Regions from separate parts of the Homo sapiens genome. Here all the other regions are linked to region 3. Evidence: promoter capture Hi-C in 16 types of primary human blood cells and fetal thymus (Javierre and others, 2016). All regions are on one chromosome and are shown on one strand. The core of a region is centred on a gene start or on the middle of the fragment in contact, and the rest is flanking DNA. Distances in the headings are between cores, read along the strand shown.

Region 1 (4,465 bases), core at 45-2,544, 210 kb before region 3:
AGGCTGAGGCAGGAGAATCACTTGAACCCAGGAGACAGAGGTTTCAGTGAGCCAAGATCGCGCCACTGCACCCCAGCCTGGGTGACAGAGCCAGACTCTGTCTCAAAAAAAAAAAAAAATTATAAAGTTTGAGCTTTTTTTTTTCCTTTAAATGAAAGGAAATTTGGTAATTCTCCCAATCCAATCCAACAGTACTAAGAATTCACTCATTCAATAGCTTGGCTGGATTTTAGAAACATGAATTATTTCATGACAACTAACCACCCTTGTGGCCAAGAGAACAAGGGTAAATAGAGGAAAGTGATCAAAAGTGAGGTTTAGTGGCAACTCCCAACAACCTATATGGGTAAGGCCAAAATCAAAAATTACCCTCTACATGAATGGGCACAGGATAGGCCAGGTCATCCAGCATCAGAACTCCCATTTCACTTCCAAGAACACACTGTAGGTCACTGTCCCGTAAGTGTCCTACCATTTGCAAATTCATCTCAATGTGCACACAATATGATAAATACTACTCAGTTTCTACAAAATCAGACAAAGGCAAGCAGGTACTTGAAGCAGATTTAACTTTGCACATCTTGGATACACATAGAGTTAAAAGATAGTCCTAGCTTCATTTAAAGTCAAATATTCTAGCACATTTTTATTATTTGTGGCACGAAATATGTGGAGCAGAGAGGCACTGAGAAATACAATGCTATTTGGCCCAAAAGGAATGACACAGCACTTCTCTGTCCTTGGAAGAACAGCACCATGGGCAACCACTGGATTAACTTATATACACAATCATACCAAGTAGGAACAGGTTTTGCCATCAAGTTCATTCATTCTTGGTTTTTAAATCCCAACATTAAAATAAGCAAACATTGCCACAACAAATGTTTTCTCTTGTGAAGCCATAAGAGAACAGGAGAATCCAAGTTAAGCAAAGATAGCAAAGCTTGCTCTTGTCAATTAAAAGTGCAATTGGCCTATCTATTTGAAAGTGAAATCTTTATTATGGAAAGTCAGATTTCAGGAAAAAAATCCATAACATAACTGTTTCATTAAATTACTCAGGTCCTATTTTCATTAAGTTGTATTATCATAATAGCTGAGAGTTCATTTGCCATTGTACCCAACTCATCTAAAATTCTGAATCCCCAGTGACTGGATTATATTTGACTTCAAAAAGAACACTATGTCCTGCTAGCCTTATGTAATACAAAGTAAATCAAGTCACTGAGTTTTCACCCATGGATATAACATTCCAGTTCATTTTAATTACATATAAAATGTATATTAAGTAAATATATATATTAGCCTGCCTTTTGATGAAGGCAACTGACTTATGACAATAGCATACAGTTAATATTCGCCTTTGTTCCTGAAATATCTTTGTTATAAACATAGTTTCTATACTTTGAAAGCCAAATTCACCAAGGGAAGCATCTTCTAAATCTTACTGCTGTAAGCTCATTTTCCTGGACTGTTATTATACGTAATAAGAGACTTGACTTGACAGCTCCTATAATAACACATTCTAAATTTTAAATTCGATGTGTGTTTTTTACCTTAAACTCTTGTGATGACAAAACCATTTTCCTCAAAGCTGATTGGTTATGCAGGTCTACAACAGTGCTTAAATGGAACCTTGCTGTGCCAAGCTTTCTGACAAGGAGGAATCTTTTTATTTTGAGCCTTTTTGATACTGAACATGATATCTGAGTGAAGAATTTTTGTTTTATTATTAAGAAATAAATGTATCTTGCTTCTTGAGATCTCCCTGGCTTCAGCAATTTGTAGTTATTTCCACTATAGACCATTAAGAATATATTTCAAAGGCAAGCTAACAAAGTTCAAGTAAAAATTATTTTTTATATATTACAGCTTCTAATTGGCATTGGGTGAGTATTAGAGATTATCAACATAAATTACATATAGTGTCAAATAATGAATTTAATTCATAGATGTTGGTTAATTCTCCTTATTGCATTCCTTCTTGTTGGTTGTATAATCATTGTATGCAGACTAATCTTCTGATAAAACTTTAAACTCCTTGGTTTATTTGGTGTATTTGTTTTTCTTGTAAGTTTTTTCCAGCCTTCTTAGACCTCCTTTACTACTGTGACTTTGTACATTTCCCCATAGTGAAGTCTAGTTTTGTCAACATCGCCCTAGAAGTATCTCAAAATACAGTGCCTGTGTCATTTCCTCTCTGATTTAGCTTTCATCCTACTTTTAAAGCAACAGAAGATTAAACTTGATTTTGTGGCCCCCTAATACAGGTATGACTGGATAAAATAATTAACATGACATGTGCTGCCTTAGAACTGAAGCTTTGCTATTCATTTCATTTATTTGTTCCATTTCTATATTTTAGTTTCTTCTCAGGTTAAAGCTGTATTTTTCTTAAAGGCTTATAAAAATTTTGCTGAAAAAAATGTTGGTGCTTCGGTGCAGGCTTGGAACCTCTTTTCCTAAACTAGATAACTTGGTGAGTACTTTCATTTATTTTTGCCAATACATACAGGTTCTCAAACTAGATACTGTCAGAAATACACTTGAGAGGGCCAAACACTACTGAAATGTATCAGAAGACTCAAAGAGCATCTGCTTTCACAGATGGAATGGAAGAAGAACTTACACAGTCATTGTACTTTGTGGCAATCATTATGAGTGTTACTTTCAACTCAAAAAATAACTAATTATAGACTTTAATCACTAACTTTTAGAGATGGAAGGGATCTCAGTCATCCAACATAATATATTAATTTTACAAAAGAGAAAATGAGTTTTCTATTTGCAAATATAAAGGCTACATATATTATCAAGAATCACTGTGACAGCTACTAGAGAGATGAGATGAATGATTAAGCAAGGCAGAAATTAACCATCCAAAAGCACCCTTAAATCTTGGGCCATAATCTTAGAAACATTTAGCAAAGAAAGCTTTCACCAGTATTCTCTTTATTAGTTTCCACATATTGTTGTAACCTATACTAAACACTCTAAAATAACATTCAGCTGTTATTTTCATTCTCTATGATGTTCTAACTCTGAAAATCTTTAAATAGTAGGAAAGGTATTTACATACTACTGCTTCCTTTGTTTAATTACATTCTGCCAATTTTTCTAATGTATGAAAGATAACTGATTACACCCACAATTTAGGAAAATGTCCATTATAAAAATGCTAAAGCGTCATTTATGTTGCTCCTATAGGAAGTAAACAGAAGGGTGAGCATTGGCTCCAATTATGCTAGATAGATTTTATGTCCAGAAAAGGAAGAAAGAATGAAAGGAATGAAAACAACTGAGTGTCTACATGTTGGTTACTCTGCTAGGAAATGGACTATATCTGATATACGATGAAAATGAATCATTCTGATTAAAACCTTTTATTTTCCTCTATTGTATATGCAAATAGAAAGTTTTCTTAAGAAATTACTCAAGTAAATGTTTCAGAATAAACCTTGTTCCAAGATGTAAATACGAGACTTAATTTTACAAGTCTTTCATAATTAACTAGAGTGGGATAAATGAATGAACCCCGTTAAAAACAATCTCCAAACTTCATACATAAGTCTATATGTTTAATCAAGGTATCTAATAAAGAGATAAATTTACTATTCTGCCTATTTCCTATTTCTTCCTATTTTCCTGACCATCTTAGAGCATAAGTGATTTTTTTTTTTTTTTGAGACAGAGTCTCACTCTGTCGCCCAGGCTGGAGTGCAATGGCACGATCTTGGCTCACTGCAACCTCCTCCTCCTGGGTTCAAGCGATTCTCCTGCCTCAGCCTCCCAAGTGGCTGGTATTACAGGTGTGAGACACCACACCCGGCTAATTTTTGTATTTTTAGTAGAGACAAGGTTTCACCATGTTGGCTCAGCTGGTCTCAAGCTCCTGTCCTCAGGGGATCCACCCACCTCAGCCTCCCAAAGTGATGGGATTAAGGCGTGAGCCACCGCGCCTGGCCACATAAGTGATTTTTAAAGGAAGTGATGATGATGATAATAATAATAACAGGAACAATAGAGGAAACCAGGAAAAAAATAAGATTCTGCATATTCCAGTTTACTTAGTCTCTATATAACAGAATATTATCTATAACATCTTAGAAAGTAGCACAAAGTTTTGATTTTGGAGTGTGCCCTCCTTGAAACTGAGATTATTCTGTACAATGAATGTAGTTGGACATCACTATTTCTTTATAAATCAACTAGTAACTAGAAACTCAAACCCATTAATATTCCTATTTGGGGGATAACCTCCTAATTTCTAATTTTCACATTCTGGTGCTATGATATCTCTCTCTTTCTCTCTCTCTCTGTCTCTCTCTCTTTCCCTGTCTCTCTCTTTCCCTGTCTCTCTCTCTCACGCACACACACTTATATTTCCTTTTAATCTGACTCTTTTGGCAGCTTGAAAAGTACCAGATGATAACTATCTAATAGTTTCTTGACATAAAATAAAACT
Region 2 (4,217 bases), core at 102-2,601, 190 kb before region 3:
CAGGATACAAGCCCAAGGGCAGAGAGAAAGAAGGCCGTATTTTAACAGAAATATCTGGGATCAGGCAACACATTTACAAAAAGCCCCAGCTAGGCCACCAGACCAGAAAGGTAACCAGCCCTATTACAGTAACACCCCAGCTGGGCTTCAGAAAAATCCAATATGGCATGAAGGTGAGAATTTGAACTATGGCATGCAAATAACTAGGATGAATTCTCCAGAGAGAGAACATTCATCTTTCCCTAACTTCATCCCACCAAGTTACCCATCAGGTCAAAAAGAAGCACATTTATTTCACCTAAGCCAGAGAGGCTCTTGCTGTGCTGGTAGCTCCACAGGGCCCAAGGACAATCCACTAGCTCTACAAGACTACACTCCATCCTATGGTCTTGCACCTGGGGAGAACCAAGACACCAGTCCTCTGTATACAGACGGTAGTCATACCAAGCAGACAAGAGATATCATCTCCCCAACAAGCATCCTACCAGGCCAAAGAAACAGCTCAGAGAAGAGGGAAAGCCAAAACCCTTTTAGAGATGATGTGTCCACGCTGAGGAGGAACACACCATGTTCTATAAAGAATCAACTGGGCCAAAAGGAAATTATGCCCTTTCCTGAAGCCAGTTCCCTTCAATCAAAGAATACACCTTGTCTCAAAAATGATCTTGGAGGAGATGGGAACAACATTCTGGAACAAGTTTTTGAAGACAACCAGCTCAATGAAAGAACTGTTGACCTTACTCCTGAGCAGCTTGTTATTGGTACACCTGATGAAGGCTCCAATCCAGAAGGCATCCAAAGTCAAGTCCAAGAAAATGAGAGTGAGAGGCAACAGCAAAGACCATCTAACATTCTGCATTTGCCATGCTTTGGCTCCAAATTAGCAAAGCATCACTCTTCCACCACCGGAACTCCATCTAGCGATGGAAGGCAAAGCCCATTTGATGGGGATTCAATTACGCCTACTGAAAATCCTAACACATTGGTTGAGTTAGCTACTGAGGAACAATTTAAGAGTATAAATGTAGACCCACTTGATGCAGATGAACACAGTCCATTTGAATTCCTTCAAAGAGGGACCAATGTACAGGACCAGGTACAAGACTGCTTACTACTTCAGGCCTAGGGGTTATCCAACCAAGCATTCTTGGGGAAAGAGAAATCACTGACATTCTATACCAATGGTTCCCAAAATTTTTTCCCCAAGACTTAATTAAGTGTCTGACTGTCTTGGTGATCCTTAAGTTTTCTCCCCTCTCAGCAATAGGAGTAGCGACCCAGGTGGAGCTGAGATTAGGCCTCTGGGGATCACCAGATCTAGCACTTTCACAGATTAGTGCAGACCTTAAAAAAGCAAGAAGGCCATGACCATCCCTGCCTCGAAACTTGCAAGTCACTTGTCTGAGTTAGTTTCCTTTTGCTTGATGACTTCTTTTGCTCTCAAAGTTCCATACTTGCAAAATTGGTTTTTCAAGACTGAAAGGCAGATTAACTTTCCATTCTACTTATGGAGATCCACACATCAGTATAGTCCTGATGCACTGTACGTTTTTTGCTTGTGTTGATCTTGTCAGGTTTTTTTCCTACTCAATATTCTCTTCAAGCATTTTTTTTCTTCCACTGCCACTCTCTTTACCTTTATCATTTCTTTTTCTTAGCTTTCTTCCTTCTTTTCTCTCTCCCTCAACCATTCTGTATTTAGCTTTCTAATCCTCATCTTTTTCTCTCTGTATATCACTTCTTACATATTAAATTAGCTATTTTAACCATTTCTAGTCTCTTCTTTATGTCTACCTCCTCCATTATGTCTTCGTCTCTTCCAACCTATCTGTTCTGTCTCCCAATGTACCACTTATCAACTAATCCCTCTCCTCTCTGATTCCTTTCTTCCCTTCAATTTATCTTTTTCCCTGTTACACCATTTTCATCTTAAGACTGCATGTCACTCTCTTCCTTTTTGTATCCACTCTCCAAATCGTACCCTAAATTTTTCTTGACCCAGCTTAACCATCATTACAGAATATATTTTGGAAATGGTAGACACTGATAGCTACTTTGTTTTTAGTTATCTTAGGGTCTCTACCAAGTAGACACAGTTCAGTTAGAGAGACGTATTTAAGGAGAAGGGAAGGCAGGATACCCAGAACTAGCAGCCTAGGGAAAAGGCTTAGGAAGATGGAGAATGAGGAACTGAAGAAACTGCCGCTCTGAGACTGCACATCCAGGAAAAAAGACTAGGACTTGCCACACACTGCCAATTCATAATCCGCAGGATCTGTAGAAGACATTTTGGGAAACACTGTCTTAAATAAAAACTCAATGTTTAGTTGTTTTTTTTTTTTTTTACTAGTTCAGCATAAGGGATTCTACCAGTATGTGCTACTACTAACATTCTTCATGTCCATGCAGAATTACTTACAGACACTCTTTCTTGGTATCTTGAATAAATTGTGTAAATTATTTTGAAAAGTGGATATTTCTATATGCCTTGCTTATAATACATCAGGGATTATTATTCTTATTAATAACATGTTGGCCTATTATCTGGATGTCCCTTGCCTAGAGCAGGAAAAAAGTCTCAGAATTACCTAAAAACATACTTTATAACTTTAAGAGATTTCTTAGGATACATCTTCAGGGGCAGATTTCATAACAACATCTCAAAAATTTGGGGAAACACAACGTTGAAAACTTCCTAAGAAAAGGAATCTTGCCCTTGAATCTTCTGAAGTACCTAGCACAGTGTCTTCAACATAGAAGGTACCCAATAAATATATATCAATTCATTTTTTAATGACTTTCAACACTCCCATGAAAACACCGTAGTCTGCTTTTCCTGAAAGGTGACTGTCTAGGATGCTGAATGAGCCACCACTCCGTAGCTTTATATATTCAGCAACATTTCCATCATAGAATTTCAGCGTTAGAAGGGATCTTAGAGGTAGATTATCCAGGCCATCCCCTACTGCTTACATTCCCCTCCCCCTGGCCAGTTTTATATTTTAATCACACATTGAAAAATTCATTAACTTATTCTGTATAAAACTGTCTTTTAAGAATTATCCTTTCAAAATAAAAATGTTATTGTTTCACTAGTTTATTTTTCCAAATGATTTTTTTTGAAATCTCAATATGAGTACTTTCATTACAAGATACTCACTTCACATTTCACCAAAATGCATGGGTTCACATAATTGTTTTGGCAGATATGTTGACATATCTGAATTTATAAGACACTGCTACTTAAACTACCATCTGAGATCGCTGCAATGTAAAATGTAAAAAGTACAGTGTGACACTTCCAAACTGTCTTGAGCATAAGTAAATATTTTTTCTAAAAATGTATAGTGTGACCAAAGGAACACATATTTTGAATTTGAAAACACACAGTGAAAAGAAGGGAAAATGTCTCTCCAGAAAATAACTGTTTTCTTTTTTTTTTTTTTTTTTTTTTGGTTTTTGTTTTGAGACAGAGTCTTGCCCTATTGCCCACACTGGAGTGCAGTGGCACCATCTCAGCTCACTGCAACCTCCACCTCCCAAGTTGAAACAATTCTCGTGCCTCAGCCTCCCAAGCAGCTGAGATTACAAATGTGTGCCACCAGGCATGGCTAATTCTTGCATTTTTAATAGAGACAGGGTTTCACCATGTTGGTCAGGCTGGTCTCGAACTCCTGACCTCAAGTGATCCATCCACCTCCGCCTCCCAAAGTGCTGGGATTATAGGCGTGAGCACTGTGGCCGGCCCAGAAAACTCTTGATGTCATCAGCACAGGTATGCATTTGCAAACCTGGATACCAGATATGAGTTCCTTACAGTAAAGAAATCAATTATTCTGTATGCTCTTGCTAAGTTATTGATAAAGCTTTTAAAGTCTGCTCTAAAGTTAAGGTGCACGCGGTGGATATCGGAGGCTCTAAAAGTAACCCTCTTGTCTTAGCATCTGAACCCTACCGCTACTACTACACTTCTGTGATGAGTTCCTACATCTAGTGGTCATCTGCTGATTCTAAACTAGCTGGATATAGTCTATGATGTCTTTAGTTGATAAGGTAAAGAAGAAGAAAAAAATGTGAGGATTATAAACACAAGAGATAATCCAGCAAGGTTGACACTCATCTGCTTTATATGCACAGCCTACAGTAAACTTCTCTAGAGGATGGTTGGGCATTAATCCAGGTGCCTGGGGGAAATCTTGCATTTCCTCACCTGACAC
Region 3 (4,322 bases), core at 301-2,800:
AGAAGCTAGCTCACAAAGGTTTACTGGAGATGGTTTTGTTGTGGTTTTTGTAGACAACTTTCCCCATTTTTCCATAATTCCATAAGCATCACAAGCTTTTACAGAAAAAGGCAGCGTAAAGTATTGGGCCAGGATTCAAATCAATTAGCTCAGCCACTGGCAGACAGCAGCCATGCTGATTAGCCTCCCAGTCTCCCTAAGTTAAAGGAGAAGCACAAATTGAATTAAGATAAATATGACCTAAGGAATCAGGGGCTGGGTAGTTAAAAAGTGTGCAGACACTTCCCAGATGCCACGTACCAAGAAGAGAAAGGTTCATCTACAAAGCACAAAATATTTGCAATCTAACTACACACCGACTTTTCTAAAAAAATAAAGAAAAAATGGAAAGGAAAACATTGCAAATTCATTCCTGGGACCCCAAGTTGTGTCCTCAACCCTCAACGCTCCCTCCCATTCACCCCCTCCCCCCAACAGCTAAATCTCCAAACTGCTTTCCCAGACGAGGCGACACACAGTCCTTAAAGACCTTCTGTATGAGTGGAGTTGCAGAGGTGACCTTCAGTAAACCGGGACAGCTCGTCTTTCCCTGGGGACAGGAGAGGGAACGGCGCGATGGGGACAGGCTCCTTCCCTACAAGCCAGCCCACGCAACTGTGTGCGCGCACCTTCCCAGCAGCGGCCGACCGAGAGGCGCCGAGGGCCGCCCAGGCCTAGCGCTCGGGCTGCACGGAAACTCCCAACCCTCCGGCGGGCTCGGGCCTCGCAACTTCACAACCAGCCGGCGGAAAGCAAGAAGATGCGAGGTGGGGGCGTCAGCAGCCTCACGAAACCTACCATGGGCCAGGCGGGGAACAAGGCCTCAACATTCACCCCAGCCACACTTACACTGCCCAACCGACCAGAGACTCGAGGCGAGAACAAAACAAGCAGAAGACCCGACGCCTGGGAGAGCTTCCCTTGTTCCAGGGCCCAATAGGAGCACAGGGTGGACGGGGGCGGGTGTGCGGCGAGTGTCGCGGATCCCCGGGCGTGCCCGCGAGGCGCACACGGAGGGACGGAGGGGCGCGGGGGCGCGTGCACGCGGCCCGGGAGGGATCTCGCGCCAGGTCCCTCACGGCGCCCACGTACCTGGCTGTAGCTGCGCGTCGGGACGGCGGCCGCCGCCGCCAGCGACTGCGGCAGCAGAGAGGCACGGAGGGCAGAGTAGGACGCGGCGGCCGCGGCCGCGGCAGAGGTGGCCACAGCGGGAGGCCCCGCCAGCCTCCCGGGAGGCACAGGCCCGGTCTGGAGGCCACGCGTCTGGGAGGCAGCGGCCGCGGCGGCCCCGAGCAGCAGCAGCAGGCGGCGGCGGCCCGAGACGCCCGACGGGATAGAGCCAGCGGCGGAGTAGAAGGGCAGGCAGGCGGCGCCGGTGCGCCGGCAGCTGCTGCAGTTACAGCCGCAGCCCCGGAGCAGCGCCCCGAGTACCCAGCGCGTGCCGGCCATGGACTCCGGAGGCGGCGCAGGGCCTGAAGGCAGCTGCTCCAGCAGCGATGGTGGAACGGAAGTGGAATCCAGGGCCGGTTGGGGGTGGGGTGTGCCTGGCACATGCGCCGCGGGCACTGGGTGGGGGGCCTCCGAGAGTCGGAAGGAGGTGGAGGAGAGCGCGACGCTCCGCCCAGTCTCCGCCCTTGGGCGGGGCTGCCCATGGTTTGGGCGGGGCTGCCCATGGTTTGGGCGGGGCTGCCCATGGTTTGGGCGGGGCTGCCCATGGTTTGGGCGGGGCTGCCCATGGTTTGGGCGGGGCTGCCCATGGTTTGGGCGGGGCTGCCCATGGTTTGGGCGGGGCTGCCCATGGTTTGGGCGGGGCTGCCCATGGTTTGGGCGGGGCTGCCCATGGTTTGGGCGGGGCTGCCCATGGTTTGGGCGGGGCCCGGGGAAGTGGGTGCAATCGAACTGCTCTTTTTTCAGGCGGTGGAAACTGAGGCCCAAAGTAAGTGAGGCTAGGGGCCTGGCGCAGTGACTCATTCGTAGTGACTCATTCTTGTAATCCTAGCACTTTGGCAGGCAGAGGCGGGTGGACTGCCTGAGGTCAGGAGTTCGAGACCAACCTAGGCAACACGGTGAAATCCCGTCTCTACTAAAATACAAAAAATTAGGTCGGACGCGGTGGCTCCCGCCTGTAATCCCAGCACTTTAGTAGGCCGAGGTAGGGCGGATCACCTGAGGTCAGCAGTTCAAGACCAGCCTGGCCAACATGGTGAAACTGTGTCTCTACTAAAAACACAAAAATTAGCCGGGTGTGGTGACGGGTGCCCGTAATCCCAGCTACTCAGGAGGCTGAGGCAGGAGAATCGCTTGAACCCAGGAGGCGGAGGTTGCAGTGAGCCAAGATCGTGCCACCGCACTGCAGCCTGGGCGACAGAGTGAGACGCCATCTCCAAACAAACAAACAAAAAAATTAGGTTAGGGCCATCCTGCTCTGGGTAGGGCCGAGAGCTGTAGCACAAGTCTGTGCTGCCCTGCGCTGTGCCACCGAAACCCGTGGTGTGAGTGGCTAAAGAACCCTTTCTGAAAGGAATTGTGATACCTTGGTTATAAAAAAATCGTTGGGATAATATCAGAGATTTGGTACCCCCCGAATTTGAGGTATGTGAGGAAGGAGAACTTCGTTGTTTTAAAATGAAATATAGGCCTGGCGTGGTGGCTCATGCCTATAATCCCAGCGCTTTGGGAGGCTGAAGTGAGAGGATCACTGGAGCCCAAGAGTTCCAGACCAGCCTGGGCAACATAGGGAGACCCCGTCTATACAAAAAATAAATAAAGCTGGGTGTGATGGCGTGGGCCTGTAGTCCCAGCTACTTGGGAGGCCGATTGCTTCAGCCCAGAAGGTAGAGGCTGTGGTAAGCTATGATTGCCACCACTGAACTCCAGCCTGGGTGACAGAGTGAAACCCTGTCTCTAAAAAAATAAAAGAAAACATATATATTTATTATGTACTGATAATACATAACAAAGGTGAACCCTCCCCTAATGAAACTGTATTCACAAGTGAACACACAGAGATTTGCACACACATACACAAAGACTGGTTGTGCAGCTTTTCTCCTCCTGAGCCAGGACTTGTCAAAGACAAGCAAAAGGAAGTTGTTAGAGTAAAAAATAAGAGAAAGCTAGTATTTTTAAAAACTCCTTACTGTGGAAAATGTCAAACAGAAGAGCAGAATGAATTTCCAGAACTTCATAAATTGTCAACACTTTTCAGTCTTGTTTCATCTATCCCCTACCACCATCTTCCAGACCTTATTTTCTTTGCTAGAATATTTTAAAGCAATGGGTATTACATTTAAAGTTTGACTTGTTTAACCTGGACTACTTTTAGGTAAGGAAAATTCAGTATTTCTTAGAAAACCCTTTCCCCAACCAAAAAACAAAGAACAAGAAAAAAATTGATAGGCTTGGCTCTATGAACCTGGAGTATCAAAGAAAAAGGGGTTTAGTTTTGTTTTTTGGGCTAAAATACAGTCCGACGGAGAGTATTGTCATTTTTATACAAAAACAGGGACAAAAGAAAAGGCAACAGTGCAAATACTCCATCTTCCAGGAAGGGAGGCTGGGATGCCTCAGTGTTAAAATGACAAAAGAAAACCCCAGAGCAAGAACCATGATCCCTCAGAGGAGTCCCAGAAATGTCCAAGACAGCCTGGCTGGGAGAGGGGGTGTGGGAAGGGCAGGCCCCCAAGAGAGGTCCCCACATCCTCTGGCTAGAGGCTAGGCCCAGGACCCACCAATGCCAGCAGCCCTCACCTCCCTTTGGGGTGAGAGCAGGTGCTGAGGTCAGGCTGGTTTTTGTTTCCCACTGCTTGTTCGTGATTTGTTCTTGGATACCTGGAAAGGGGCCAGTTGAGGCCTCAGGGGTTGAGGCCCCTCTGGAAATGTGGTTCCTGGGAATGGGCCTGGACATAGAAGCCACTGGATGTCTCTTCCCTGAACAGTAATTTTGTTCATCAGTAATCCTGTAACTTCCCAAGGAAAACAAAGAACAGGCTAGTCTTCCCCACCCCAGCCAAAAAAGAGAAGGGGGTTTCTTCATCTGCAAGATTTGGGAATCCTAGAGTTACTTATTTATATAGAGACAGGGTTTTGCTCTTTTGCCCGAGCTGGGGTGCAGTGGTGGGAATATGACTCACACTAGCCTTGACCTCCCGGGTTCAAGTAATCCTCCTGCCTCAGCCTCCCAAAGTGCTTGGGATTACAAGCATGAACCACCACACCTGACCTATTTTTCTTTTCGTAAGCCTCCCTTTCAAGAAGGAAAATGGGTTAGCCCTTCCTAACAG

What was found. The method cuts DNA at HindIII sites, captures the fragments that hold promoters and counts their contacts. A CHiCAGO score of 5 or more calls a contact.
Region 1: a contact is called between a fragment that was not itself captured here and the fragment with the promoter of GRSF1 in region 3, in 2 of 17 cell types (fetal thymus and erythroblasts). The highest score is 6.8, in fetal thymus.
Region 2: a fragment that was not itself captured here is called in contact with the fragment with the promoter of GRSF1 in region 3 in 7 of 17 cell types (total B cells, monocytes, activated CD4 T cells and 4 more); the score reaches 9.1 in total B cells.

The regions. Positions count from the first base shown.
Region 1 is chr4:70,627,076-70,631,540 of GRCh38, forward strand. It overlaps ENAM (enamelin), which reads left to right and starts at 1,669. Exons shown (of 9, transcript NM_031889.3): 1 at 1,669-1,889; 2 at 2,366-2,479. The coding sequence starts at 2,426. The HindIII fragment of the contact is 706 bases long and covers 942-1,647 here.
Region 2 is chr4:70,643,730-70,647,946 of GRCh38, forward strand. ENAM (enamelin) reads left to right here. Exons shown (of 9, transcript NM_031889.3): 9 at 1-3,095. The coding sequence ends at 1,126. Among named protein-coding and RNA genes, the nearest start is that of ENAM, 17 kb to the left of the region's middle. The HindIII fragment of the contact is 5,025 bases long and covers 1-3,864 here.
Region 3 is chr4:70,838,340-70,842,661 of GRCh38, forward strand. GRSF1 (G-rich RNA sequence binding factor 1) reads right to left here and starts at 1,551. Exons shown (of 10, transcript NM_002092.4): 1 at 1,132-1,551. The coding sequence starts at 1,488. LOC124900710 (a long non-coding RNA gene) reads left to right here and starts at 653. Exons shown (of 3, transcript XR_007058131.1): 1 at 653-806. RefSeq lists enhancers at 254-908, 909-1,562 and silencers at 959-1,508, 1,569-1,818. The HindIII fragment of the contact is 9,073 bases long and covers 94-4,322 here.